2 separate regions of the Homo sapiens genome follow, and region 2 is linked to region 1. Evidence: promoter capture Hi-C in 16 types of primary human blood cells and fetal thymus (Javierre and others, 2016). All regions are on one chromosome and are shown on one strand. Each heading gives the region's core, a stretch centred on a gene start or on the middle of the fragment in contact. The rest is flanking DNA. Distances are from core to core; before and after follow the strand shown.

The links. The method cuts DNA at HindIII sites, captures the fragments that hold promoters and counts their contacts. A CHiCAGO score of 5 or more calls a contact.
Region 2: a contact is called between a fragment that was not itself captured here and the fragment with the promoter of LINC02482 in region 1, in 2 of 17 cell types (total B cells and fetal thymus). The highest score is 5.8, in total B cells.

The regions. Positions count from the first base shown.
Region 1 is chr4:6,669,093-6,675,130 of GRCh38, reverse strand. It overlaps LINC02482 (long intergenic non-protein coding RNA 2482), which reads left to right and starts at 1,250. Exons shown (of 2, transcript NR_134665.1): 1 at 1,250-1,447; 2 at 4,138-4,403. MRFAP1L2 (Morf4 family associated protein 1 like 2) reads right to left here and starts at 1,056. Exons shown (of 1, transcript NM_138699.3): 1 at 1-1,056. The coding sequence starts at 918. The coding sequence ends at 559. RefSeq lists a silencer at 752-981 and an enhancer at 1,454-2,062. The HindIII fragment of the contact is 2,330 bases long and covers 1-1,652 here.
Region 2 is chr4:8,229,417-8,235,454 of GRCh38, reverse strand. It overlaps SH3TC1 (SH3 domain and tetratricopeptide repeats 1), which reads right to left. Exons shown (of 18, transcript NM_018986.5): 13 at 3,299-3,479; 14 at 1,942-2,092; 15 at 1-22. Among named protein-coding and RNA genes, the nearest start is that of SH3TC1, 33 kb to the right of the region's middle. RefSeq lists a silencer at 6,003-6,038 and an enhancer at 5,820-6,038. The HindIII fragment of the contact is 8,587 bases long and covers 495-6,038 here.

The DNA of each region.
Region 1 (6,038 bases), core at 1-2,500:
TACTGGAAATTGAGTGGCTAATGTGGAGAAAACGCAGGCAGAAAAACAGGGGAGACAAAACGAAAGGCTCTCTTGGTTTGAGCCTGTCCAAGCAGCCACGACTCCTTATCAGGTGAACACAGTTCGTCAGTTGGCCACCTAAAGTACAAGTGGGAGAAATTCATCATCACAACATAAATTTTGAGCTTGATATTCTCATATCCGGGAGTCAAACAAACCCAACCACCTGTGCACAATGCTTCCACCTGCAGGAAGGTCATCGCAAACGCTCCAATCTCGTAACAACATTCACACGTTTCCAGCATGTACCTCCGCTTCACACCTCTCTCCCCCCACGTAGTGACCCACCAGGTCTACGTCCTGAAAATACTTCCAGTGGTCATGACTCTTTACAACAACATATCAAATTATTTTCTCTAATTACCTATGAAAAAAGAATGAAACCAACTCCGCGGAGAGCGTGGCACGGCTCTGCGCTCCCCTCCCTGCCTACCCAGCGCCTTCCACGCGGGACACTCCCCGCCGCGCTCCGCTCCAGACCCGCGCGGCCTCGCCGGCTCAGCAGCACTCGCAGCCGGCGATCCGCTGGTGCAGCTCCACGATCCGCCTGCCCATCCGCGCCGCCTCCGCAGCCTTCCTCTCTGCTTCGGCGCACAGCCGAGCCACCCGCTCCTCAGCCTCCGCACGCGGGCGGGGTGCTGGGGCCCGGGCGCCCCGCTCCTCTGCCTCCACCTCACTCTTGATGGCGTCGAGCAGGCTCTGGATCTCCAGCAGCTTCCTGCGGGCCCGCCAGTGCGCCCGGGCGCGCTCGCGCTCCAGGGAGGCCAGGTTCTCGCGGCCGGCGCGGGGCGCGGGGCTCAGCGGGCTGCCCGGCTCCTCGCGGGGCTCCCGCGCCTCGTCCGCGTCCACGGGCCGCATCACGCCGCCGCCTCTTCCAGCCCGCGGGGCACGCCGGGGCTGCTCACCAGCAGCGAGCGCGGAAGCCTCGCTGTCACCAACGACCAGACTAGCAACAGGTTGCCCCAACTTTCCGCAGCGAGGACGGTATCCAAAATGGGCTACTAGCCGTCGGCCAGGACGCTGCCACTGCGGCCCTTTTACGACACCTGCGGTCCTTTACCGCCACGCAGCAAGCGAGAACCGCATTCGGGGCTCCCGCCTCAGCGGTCCTGCGCGCGCACGCGCACTTGCACGCACGCGTACCCCCCCGCACGCATGCGCACCCCATGTCCCCGCCCGCTGTAGCGCCACAGCTCTTTGGGCGTTGATTCTAGGGTCAGGGCCCTCACTCACACTGCTGGAAGGTTAAAGTCGACTTCACGCTAGTTTAAGGAAATATCTGACGCTGATAACCATGTCCCAAGCACTGCTCTAAGTTCCCAATGTGTCCGGAATTGGTGGGTTCTTGGTCTCACTGACTTCAAGAATGAAGCCACGGACCCTCGCGGTGAGTGTTACAGCTCTTAAAGTGGCGCGTCTGGAGTTTGTTCCTTCTGATGTTCGGATGTGTTCGGAGTTTTTTCCTTCTGGTGGGTTCGTGGTCTCGCCGGCTCAGGAGTGAAACTGCAGACCTGTTACGGCTCATAAAGGCAGTGTGGACCCAAAGAGTGAGCAGCAGCAGGATTTATTGCAAAGAGAGAAAGAACAAAGCTTCCACAATAGAAGGGGACCTGAGCCGGTTGCCACTGCTGGCTCCGGCAGCCTGCTTTTATTGTCTTATCTGGCCCCACCCACATCCTGCTGATTGGTAGAGCCGAGTGGTCTGTTTTGACAGGGTGCTGATTGGTGCGTTTACAATCCCTGAGCTAGACACAAAGGTTCTCCAAGGCCCCAGCAGAGTCGATTGGTATATTCACAAACCCTGAGCTAGACACACGGTGCTGATTGGTGTATTTACAATCCCTGAGCTAGACATAAAGGTTCTCCACATCCCCACCAGACTCAGGAGCCCAGCTGGCTTCACCAAGTGGATCCCACACCAGGGCTGCAGGTGGAGCTGCCTGCGAGAACGGCACCGTGCGCCCACACTCCTCAGCCCTTGGGTGGTGATGGGACTGGGCGCCGTGGAGCAGGGGGTGGTGCTCGTCGAGGAGGCTCGGGCAGCACAGGAGCCCATGGAGGGGGTGGGAGGCTCAGGCATGGCGGGCTGCAGGTCCCGAGCCCTGCCCCTCGGAAAGGCAGCTAAGGCCCGGTGAGAAATCGAGCACAGCGCCGGTGGGCTGGCACTGCTGAGGGACCCAGTACACCCTCCGCAGCCGCTGGCCCGGGTGCTAAGCCCCTCATTGCCGGGGGCTGGCAGGGCCAGCCGGCTGCTCCGAGTGCGGGGCCCACCAAGCCCACGCCCACCCTGAACTCCAGCTGGCCCGCAAGCGCCGTGTGCAGCCCCGGTGCCCGCTCGCGCCTCTCCCTCCACACCTCCCTGCAAGCTGAGAGAGCCGGCTCTGGCCTTGGCCAGCCCAGAAAGGGGCCTCCACAGTGCAGCAGTGGGCTGAAGGGCTCCTCAAGTGCTGCCAAAGTGGGAGCCCAGGCAGAGGAGGCACCGAGAGTGAGCGAGGGCTGTGAGGACTGCCAGCACACTGTCACCTCTCACCAACATTCTAAATCATAAACACCCAGGCCGGGCGTGTGGCTCACGCCTATAATCCCAGCACTTTGGGAGGCTGAGGTGAGAGGATCGCTTGAGCTCAGGAGTTCCATACCAGCCTGGGCAACAAGGGAAAAAACCCTACCAAAAAAAACACAAGAAATTAGCTGGGCGTGGTGGCGCGTGCCGATAGTCCCAGCTACTTGAGAGGCTGAGCCGGGAAGATTGCTTGAGCCCAGCAGGTCGAGACCGAGGTGAGCTCTGAACGCCTGATTGCGCCACTGCACCCCAGCCCAGTGACAGGGCGAGACCCTGTCTCAAAATAAATAAATAAAAATAATAAACAACCGAATTCAGTGGTCCCGTTAGAATATTCCAGGCTCCGAGAAGCCAGGTGCTCACAGCGTCGGGATTTGCCCCCAGCCAGGGCCTCCGCTCCCTCTTGCCTCGGGCAGATGCTCCTGGAACACAGAGCTGCGGCCTCGGTGCTGATGCTGAGTGCTGTGACCCAGCCTCCCCCTACTTTTTTCCTAAGGGTATAAGCTTCACTCTGCCTGGGGCTTTGGCTGTAAGTTGGAGTCTGGCTTTACCCACTGTGGGCACCCAAGGCCAAGGTGGGTCTGATTCACCACTGTTTCCTCAGCCCTGCCAGGCTCTGAATATGCCTTTAGGAATCATTCTGGAAGATTTCTTTCTTCACTGGACTATATAAGTGCCTCTGCGAGAAAACAGGCCCTAGGGGCAGGTACTTAGTCAGTTTAGTCATCTGTTTCCTCAGCTTGAAATGGGCTTGGCATACAGCAGGAGCCCAGTAAATGTTGCTTTAATGCTCATTTCCCAAGAGATCTTTATTAAGCACCCACTGCATGTCATTGTGTCTAGGCTTATTCACTGTGTACCTCTAGCAGAAAGTTAAGGGGACCCTCCATGCTTGATGGCCAGAGGTCACTCTCAGCTCCTACAGGTCACTCTCCGGTCCTTAAACGTGGCCCTCTCCATCTTCAAAGCCAGTAAGAGCATGTCGGATCCTTCTTATCCTTCCAGCCTCTCTGTCATCCCCTTCTGCTCCCAGCTGGAGAAAACTCTGCTTTTAAGGGGCTTGCCATGGTCCAAATATGTGAGTCCCCCCAAAATTCATATGTTGCAAAGCAATCCCCAATGTGATGATATTAGGAGGTGGGGTCTTTGGGAGGTGATGTGGTCATGAAGGCTCAGCTTTCATGAATGAGATTAGCACCCTCATAAAACAACTCCACAGGGCCGCCTTACCCCTTCTGCTGTGGGAGGTTATAGCAAAAAGATGGGCTTCTATGAACCAGAAGTGGGCCCTCACCAGGCACCAAACCTGCTGGCACCGTGATCTTGTACTGCTCAGCCTTCAGAACTCAGAAAATACATTTCTGTTGTTTAGAAGACACCCAGTTTCTGGTATTTTGTTAGAGCAGCGTGAACGGACTAAAATAGTGCTTATGTGGTTGTGTAACAGCATCGATTCCATGTTAAAGAACAATTTTGCTTGCTCAATTATAATTATTGCTTTGCTTAAGTTTTAGACTATGCTAAAAACAGCCTCAGGACCTTCAGCACTGATCAACAATCCTGGGCATGGGCTGACCGACAGTTTTCACCCAGAGAGTGAAGATCATGGAGGAGCCATCTTAAATTCTGCCCAGCGCAGGCTCCCAGGAATCCTAATGTCACGATCTCACTGCAGCCAATGTGACAAACACAGCAGTAATTAAGTCTAGAGAGCTAAACACACCTCAAAAAGAATTGTCTCTTGGTATGAGTGGAATGGAATAAAATACATGGAAACCCACAAAAGTTTCGAGGTGAACATATTAGCAAAAATGCTCTAGCTTATCCAAGCGACAGTTCAAAGTGTCAAAGGACTTCTAGACTCCCAATCTTTCCACCGGCAGAAAGCAGGCTCAGTAGCCCAAACTGGCGCATTTTAAAATGCCCTTTTCAGAAGTGTGATGGAAAAAGAAGGATGTGTCAGTGCAGGCCAGTGTGTGGGGACCAATGGCAAACTGCAGCTCCTGAACTAAGAAAGACTTTCATATCTTTAAAAAAGAAAAGGAGAAATAGGAATATGTGATAGAGACTGTATGTGGCCCACAAAGCCTAACATATTTACTGTTTAGATCTTTACAGAAAATGTTTGCCAACTCCTGTGCTGCTGAGCCACTTCCAGGTTGCAGAACCAAAGCCTTACATTCCCTAGCTTTAAAGTAGAGGACCTGGCAATGTTTACTCCACCGAGTTTCAAAATAGCTATGTGACTGCTATTTCACCCCTTCATTCTTCCCTTACCAATGGGCCTTATCCTGTCCCTGTCTCATCACTGAATGTTGGGTCTAAGTGGACAATAACTTGTCTTTTCAAAAAGTGCATAAGCTTCTAGACCAATAAAAGCCATATTAGGACCTGATGTGGCTCACAAGATGCTAGACTTCTTGCTTGAGGCCATGATTGGAAGAAAGTAGGAAGGGGGTCCTTAGATGGGGGTGGGCAATTTTTCCATGAATAATGGGGGCAGTGGGCACAGATGATGGTAGGTAGTATAAATGACCCCAATTCCCCACCCCTTCATTCATCCATGTTCTCTGCCTCATGTCTTGCTTTGGCCAATGAGAGGTTCACAGAGAGGACACAAGCACAGGTTTGAAAGAGGCTTTCGCGGTTGGACTCGCTTTCCTCTGCGTCTCTGCCTTCGCTATGAGAAGAACGGGCACCGGTCTTGGGAAGATGGTGAGAGAAACACAGAACCAAGCTGCTCTAGACAGGCCTAGCCTAGACCAGGTGGCCCGCAGACCATTACTGAGCCCAGCCTGGATCATCCAACTCCCAGCCAAACTGCAGACCATGAGGAATGTTTATTGTTGTCACGGAGATTTAGGGTGGCTCATGCAGCAAAAGCCAGTTGATGGCCGTAGGTGGGATTATAATCCCGGATACATTAAAATGCCAGTCTCTTCTTTTCCCCATGTCTTCATTTGCTCACTCTCAGGTGAAGGGATCTTGCTTGGAGGCCCAGACGTTCTGGATTTTCTCTTTAGAAACTGTGGCTTGAAGCATCCTCTTCAGGAAACAATATTTACTCCTTTTGTATCTCCAAAACCCCTCCTCACCCCTTTTGCAACCCAAACCCAAGTGTCTTCTGTGTCCTATTTTTCTTCTTTTGAGGCAGAGTCTTGCTCTGCTGCCCAGGCTGGAATGCAGTGGTGCGATCACGGCTCACTGCAGCCTCGACCTCCCTGGCCCAGGTGATCCTCGCAACTCAGCCTCCCGAGTAGCTGGGACTACAGGCACATACCACAATACCTGGCTAATTTTTTTGTATTTTTTTGTAGAGGTGTGGTTTCACTATGTTACCCAGGTTGGTCTTGAACTGAGCTCAAGCAATCTGCCTGCCTCGGCCTCCCAAAGTGCTGGGATTACAGGTGTGAGC
Region 2 (6,038 bases), core at 3,539-6,038, 1.6 Mb before region 1:
ACAGGGCCACGTTCTGTGCCACCTGAAAGGAGGCAGAAGTTCCCTCAAGACCCACACCTGGTGAGGTGGCCACGCCCACCCAGGTCGGACTCCCCCGCCCAGCCTCCTTCCTCTCACACACTGCAGGTGCAACTGAGCCTTTTTCAGACCCTGTGCATTAGGGCCGCCCCCACCGCTGGCATGGGGACAATGATCTCATGCACCCGAGTGCCAGGAGGTGACTGTGCAGCTGCAGCCCAGGAGCCCGACATCTGTGAATCCTGCCACCAGGGCTAGCCCTAGCCCACTCCCCCTGCACTCAAACCAGCCTCCATGGCCCCCAGATTGCTGGGAGCCCATCCCCTGGCTCCTTTCTGAGTTGCCACATCCCTGCCACAGCTCAGGACCCCACATCAACAGTGTTTGTGGGTGGGCTGGTCCCCTCTTGGCCATGAGCTCTTGATCCTTCTCCTCAGCTCAAGGAAGTATACAGCAGGTGCTCAAAAACAAAAGCTTCACCAGGCTCTTGGGCTTCCCAGTTTGTTCCAGATCACACTGTGTTTGGGAAAGCCTCTGGAAACTGCTGCTATGACAGATGCATTTTGTAAGGAGATTTGCCACATGTCGCTTGGAGCAAGTTCTTCTGTATGTTAACTGAGAGGCCACATTATTTGAGCATGTGCTGTATACCAGCAGGTGCTGGGCACTGTGAGGGGCTGTGCCTCTGCCCTCAGGGAGAAGATGCTGGCCATTGGGGGAGGATATGAGGGAACCAGTGGGAGAGAGGGGAAAGGCATACAACAGGTGCTCAGCAGTGGCTTAGGAATGAGTGGATGGATGGATAAATGGATGAGCAGATGTATAGGTACATGGATGGATGGATGGATGGATGGGTGGATGGATGGATAAATGGATGAGCAGATGTATAGGTGGGTGGATGGATGGATGGACGGACGGATGGACAGATGAATGGATGGATGGGTGGATGGATGGATGGATGGGTTGAATGATGTGTGTATGTATGGGTGGGTGGATAATGTATGGATGGATGGGTGGAGGGTGGATGATGTATGTATGTACATATGGATGGATAGATGGGTGGATAGACGAATGTATGGATAAACAAATGGACAGACAGACGAATGGAGGGATGGATTAATGGGTAGATGGGTGGGTGGATGGATGAATGATGGATGGATAAATGGATGGGTGGACAAACAGGTGAATGGATGGATGGGTGAATGGATGGATGATGGAAGGATGGTGGATGGTGGATGGATGAATGGATGGATGATGGATGGATGGATGATGGAAGGATGGATGGATGGATGAATGGATAAATGGATGGATGATGGAAGGATCAACAGGTGAATGGATGGATGATGGAATGATGGATGAATAAATGGATGGATGATAAAAGGATGGATGAATGATGGATGAATGGATGGATGGATGATGGATGGATAAATGGAAGGATGGATGGATGATGGATGGATGGATGGACAAACAGGTGAATGGATGGATTGATGGGTGATTGGATGGATGACAAAAGAGTGGATGAATGATGGATGGATGGATGATGGATGGATGAATGGAAGGATGATAGGTGAATGGATGGATGATGGAAGGATGGATGCCTGATGGATGGATGGACGGATGATGGATGGATGGAAGGACGAACAGGTGAATGGATGGATAATGGAAGGATGGATGGATGATGGATGGATGGATGGATGAACAGGTGAATGGATGGATAATGGAAGGATGGATGGATGGATGATGGATGGATGGAAGGACCCATAGGTGAATGGGTAGATGATGGAAGGATGGATGGATGGAAGGAAGGATGAACAGGTAAATGGATAGATGATGGAAGGATCATCTATCATCATCATCAATGGACGGATGGATGGATGGAGAGTGAACATGTGCAGAGGCCCTCCTGCATCCCTCATCACTCACCTGGATGTAGAGGTCCACCAGCTCGCTCTGCCGCAAGATGTAATAGATCTTCCCTGCTTGCAGCCAGGCATGCGCCTCCTTCTCTTTCTTCTGGAGGTCAATGAAAATCCCCAGACTTCGTTTGGTGTAGTCCAGTGCGGATTTGTAGGCCCTGGTATCAGACACAGGTGTCAGAACAAGGGCTGTCATCCTCCTGGAACCAGTCTGCCTCCTCCCGTGGGTCTGGTGACAGATGAATCTGGAATGGGACTGGGAACGGCCCTCTTGTGTGTGCAGTGTCCTGCCCTTCCCGGGCTGCTGAGAGGGTGGGGTTGAACACACACGGCAAGGAAAAGACGAAGGACATCCTTCTGAGGGAACTGGGCATCATGCTGCCCTGTGGCTGGGGGAGCGTGCTAGTCCATCTCCCCCGCGTCCCAGACATGGCCTGTGTCTTCTCTAGACGCACCAGGAGCCATCAGTGTTCAGATGCTATCCAGGCCGATGGTTCTCAAGGTGCGCAGGCATCACAGTCATCCAGAGGCCTGTCCATATAGCTTGCTGGCCTGCCCCCAGAGCTTCTGGCTCCACGGGCCTGGGGCGGGCCCTAGAACTCCCACTTGCCACAAGCTCCTAGGTGACATGGATGCTGCTCTGCTGGTCCAGGGACCACACTTTGAGAACATGGCTCTAACACACTGGCCCATTTTCCTGCTGTGAACCTGAGGCCAAGGCTGGAGCCGATCTCCCGGGTCCCTGTGGAATCCGGCTCCTTCCCTGCTCTCTTGGTGAGTCGAAGGGGTGTGAGTGCAGCAATGTCACTGGGCCCTGTGGGTGGGGTGGCCAGGGCCATGGTTACCCCACCAGGTCAGGATGCTCCAGGAGAGCCAAGTGGGCCACATGTGGGATGTGAGACCTTGAAACCCTGCCCCAGGGAAGCAGGTGACACAACTGGCTCTGTCTTCTGTGGGAGAGAAGCCACAGGTGGCTGCTGTGGTCACATTTAAGGGGACAGGTGAAGGCCAGGAGTGAAGACTCGGGGCAGGCAGAGGTCAGATGACAAAAGCCACCAGGTAGGAAGAACAGCCCAGAATGCATGTAACTGCTTCTGCTGGGGTTGAGATGACCTTTGGGGAGGTGTGCAAGCAGGGATGGGAAGACGTGTCACCCAACAAGGGAAGCTCAAGCTGGGACTCACGGGTCATCAGCAGCCCTGGGACAACCCCAGGCCCCCCAGCTCAGAGCATCCGATGCCAAGGAACCAAATGATCCCAAGGAGAGGGGCTGCTGGGGCCCTGGGCCAGCTTCCCTGTGCCCCCGCCCCGCCGCCCCCTTTGCCCCCTCCCCCCGCCCCCACCACCACAGAGCCAGCCCTCACCGCTCGGTGCCCAGGGACAGGTAGAGCTGGCTGATGGTCTCCAGGAGCTGCCCCTCCAGCACCTTGTCGGCCACCTTGCAGGCCAGGGAGAGCTGGAGCTCATGGTAGATGACACACTGGGCCTCGCTGGGCATGACGGCGCTGTAGAAGTGGCACAGCCGCTGGACGGCCCGCAGCTGGCCTGGGCAGAAGACAAAAAGGAAGACGTCAGCCTCCCAGCATTGAAGCGAGGCTGGCTGGGCTCAGAGGCCCCTGCGGTGTGCTTGCCTCTTTCACACCTCTGTGAGCCTGGGCCCCACAGGCGGGGAACCGCTGAGCACACCGTGACATGGGCACAGCTTGGTGCAGATGCCCATGGTAGAGGCCGGCCTTCTTTACAACTCCCAGGGCTGAGGCCCTAGCCGAGCTTGGCCCCTGCACCAGGCCATCTATTTCTGCTTCACAAAGCCCCTCTGGCCAGGACCAGGGCCGCCTTCAGCCCGAGCTGACGAGGCCAGGGACACAAGTAGCCCCTGTCGCAGATGGAACCCTGGGGGAGCAAAACCAAATGTCACGTCTGCCACACACGGCATCATGTTGGGGGAATGGGGCTCAAAGCCGGCCCCTGGCATTCCCACACGTGCTCCTCCCGTGCAGCCAGGCTCCAAACCCACAGGCTCACGGGCCTCTCCCAAAGCCAAGGCGCTGGGAACGGTGGAAAGCTGCTGATTTTCTAGTGTCAGCAACATTCCGGAGATGAACACCAGAAACCAGGTACGCCGAGTGGACATCTATCACACACGCCACCCAACAACGGCAGAATACACAGTCCTCTCAAGCGCCCATGGGACATTCCCCAAGACAGGCCACGTGCCAGGCCCCACAATGAGCCTCAGTGAATGGAAAAGGACTGAGACCAAAGCAGGAGTGTTCTTCAGTTGTACTGGCGTGAAACTGGACATCAACAGTGAAGGAAATTTGGGAAAGTCAAAAATATGTGGAAATGACACACTCCTAAACAACCAGTGAGTGAAAGAAGAGACCATCAGGGAAACTGAAAACTAATTTGAGAAGAATGAAAACAAACGCACAGCACGGGCCAGAGCAATGGCTCATGCCTGTCATCCCAGCACTGCGGGAGGCCGAGGCGGGAGGATCGCTTGAGTCCAGGAGTTTGAGACTAGCCTGGGAAACATGGTGAAACCCCCGTCTCTACAAAAAAATACAAAAATTAGCCGGGTGTGGTGGTGCATGTCTGTAATCCCAGCTACTCAGGAGGCCGAGGCAGGAGAATGGCTTGAACCCGGGTAGAGGTTGCAGTGAGCCGAGATTGCACCACTGCACTCCAGCCTGAGCAACAGAGCAAAACTCTGTCTAAAAAAAAAAAAAAAAAAGCACAGCATATCAAAAATTCCAAGATGCAGCTAAGGCAGTGCTGAAAGGGAAATGTGTAACTCTAAATGTCTACATGCAAAGAAAGAAGAAAAATCTCAAATCAAAAACCCAACCTTCCACCTTAAGAAACTAGAAAAAGAAGAATGAACTAAACCCAAAGCGAGTAAAAGGAAGAAAATAATAAACATGAGAGTGGAAATGGGAAGTAAAAATACAGAGAATGGAAAAACAAAAGAGCTAATCAACAGACCCAAAGGTGGGTTTTTCAAAAATATTAACAAAATTGACAAATCTTTCACCAGACTGACCAAGAAAAGAAAGATGGGACACAAATGACTAAAATCAGAGACCGAGCACCATGGCTCACGCCTGTCATCCCAGCACTTTGTGAGGCCGAGGTGGGAGGATCGCTTGAGGCCAGCATTCAAGACCAGCCTGGGGGAACATGACGAGACCCCATCTCTAATAAAAATAAATAAATTAAAAATTAAAAACCCAAGTTTCTAAAATCAGAAATGAAAGAGGGAACATTATTGCTGACCTGACAGAAATAAAAGGATTCCATGAGAACACTACGAACAATTGTATGCCAACAAATCAGATCATCTAGACGCAACAGCCAAACTCCTAGAAAGACACAAACTACCAAAAGTGACTCAAAAATGACCACAAGTAAGCATGTGGGGTATCAGCCCCACCCTCGGTCTTCTCGACTGTTCAACGCGGGGTGGGGAGACAGGGAAGCATGATCCTCGTCCCCTGGCCCCCGGTCTCCTCGACTGTTCAACGCGGGGTGGGGAGACAGGGAAGCATGATCCTCGTCCCCTGGCCCCCGGTCTCCTCGACTGTTCAACGCGGGGTGGGGAGACAGGGAAGCATGATCCTCGTTCCCTGGCCTGCGTTTCCAAGTCTGAATCCCCCAGCACCCCGGGGAGGGCCTCGTAGGAGGTGCCACAGGCTATTGTGCCAGGACCCACCGGAGGCTGCTGTGGGGGCTGGGGTGCCGGGTTTCTGGAGGGTCTCCTTGCAGTCAGAGAATGGCCCTGGGGAAGAAGCCTGGGTCTGAACCCCCCCACTCCTCCTTGGGCAGATGGCTCCCCAGTGCCCTTAGGGAAAAGGCCAAGCCACAGCCTGAGGCCCCAGGCCCTGCTTAGCTCTCCAGCAGAGCTTCTCACCATCCAGCACCCAACCAACCCACGCCCAACTCTGCACCTCCCTGCATAGGCCCTGCTCACTCACCCCCACTTACACCCCACTCATCCCCGCTCACCCGCTCACACCCCCGCTCACTCACCCCCTGCTCACCCCCATCACACCCCCACTCACTCACCCCCTGCTCACTCACCCCCATCACACCCCCACTCAC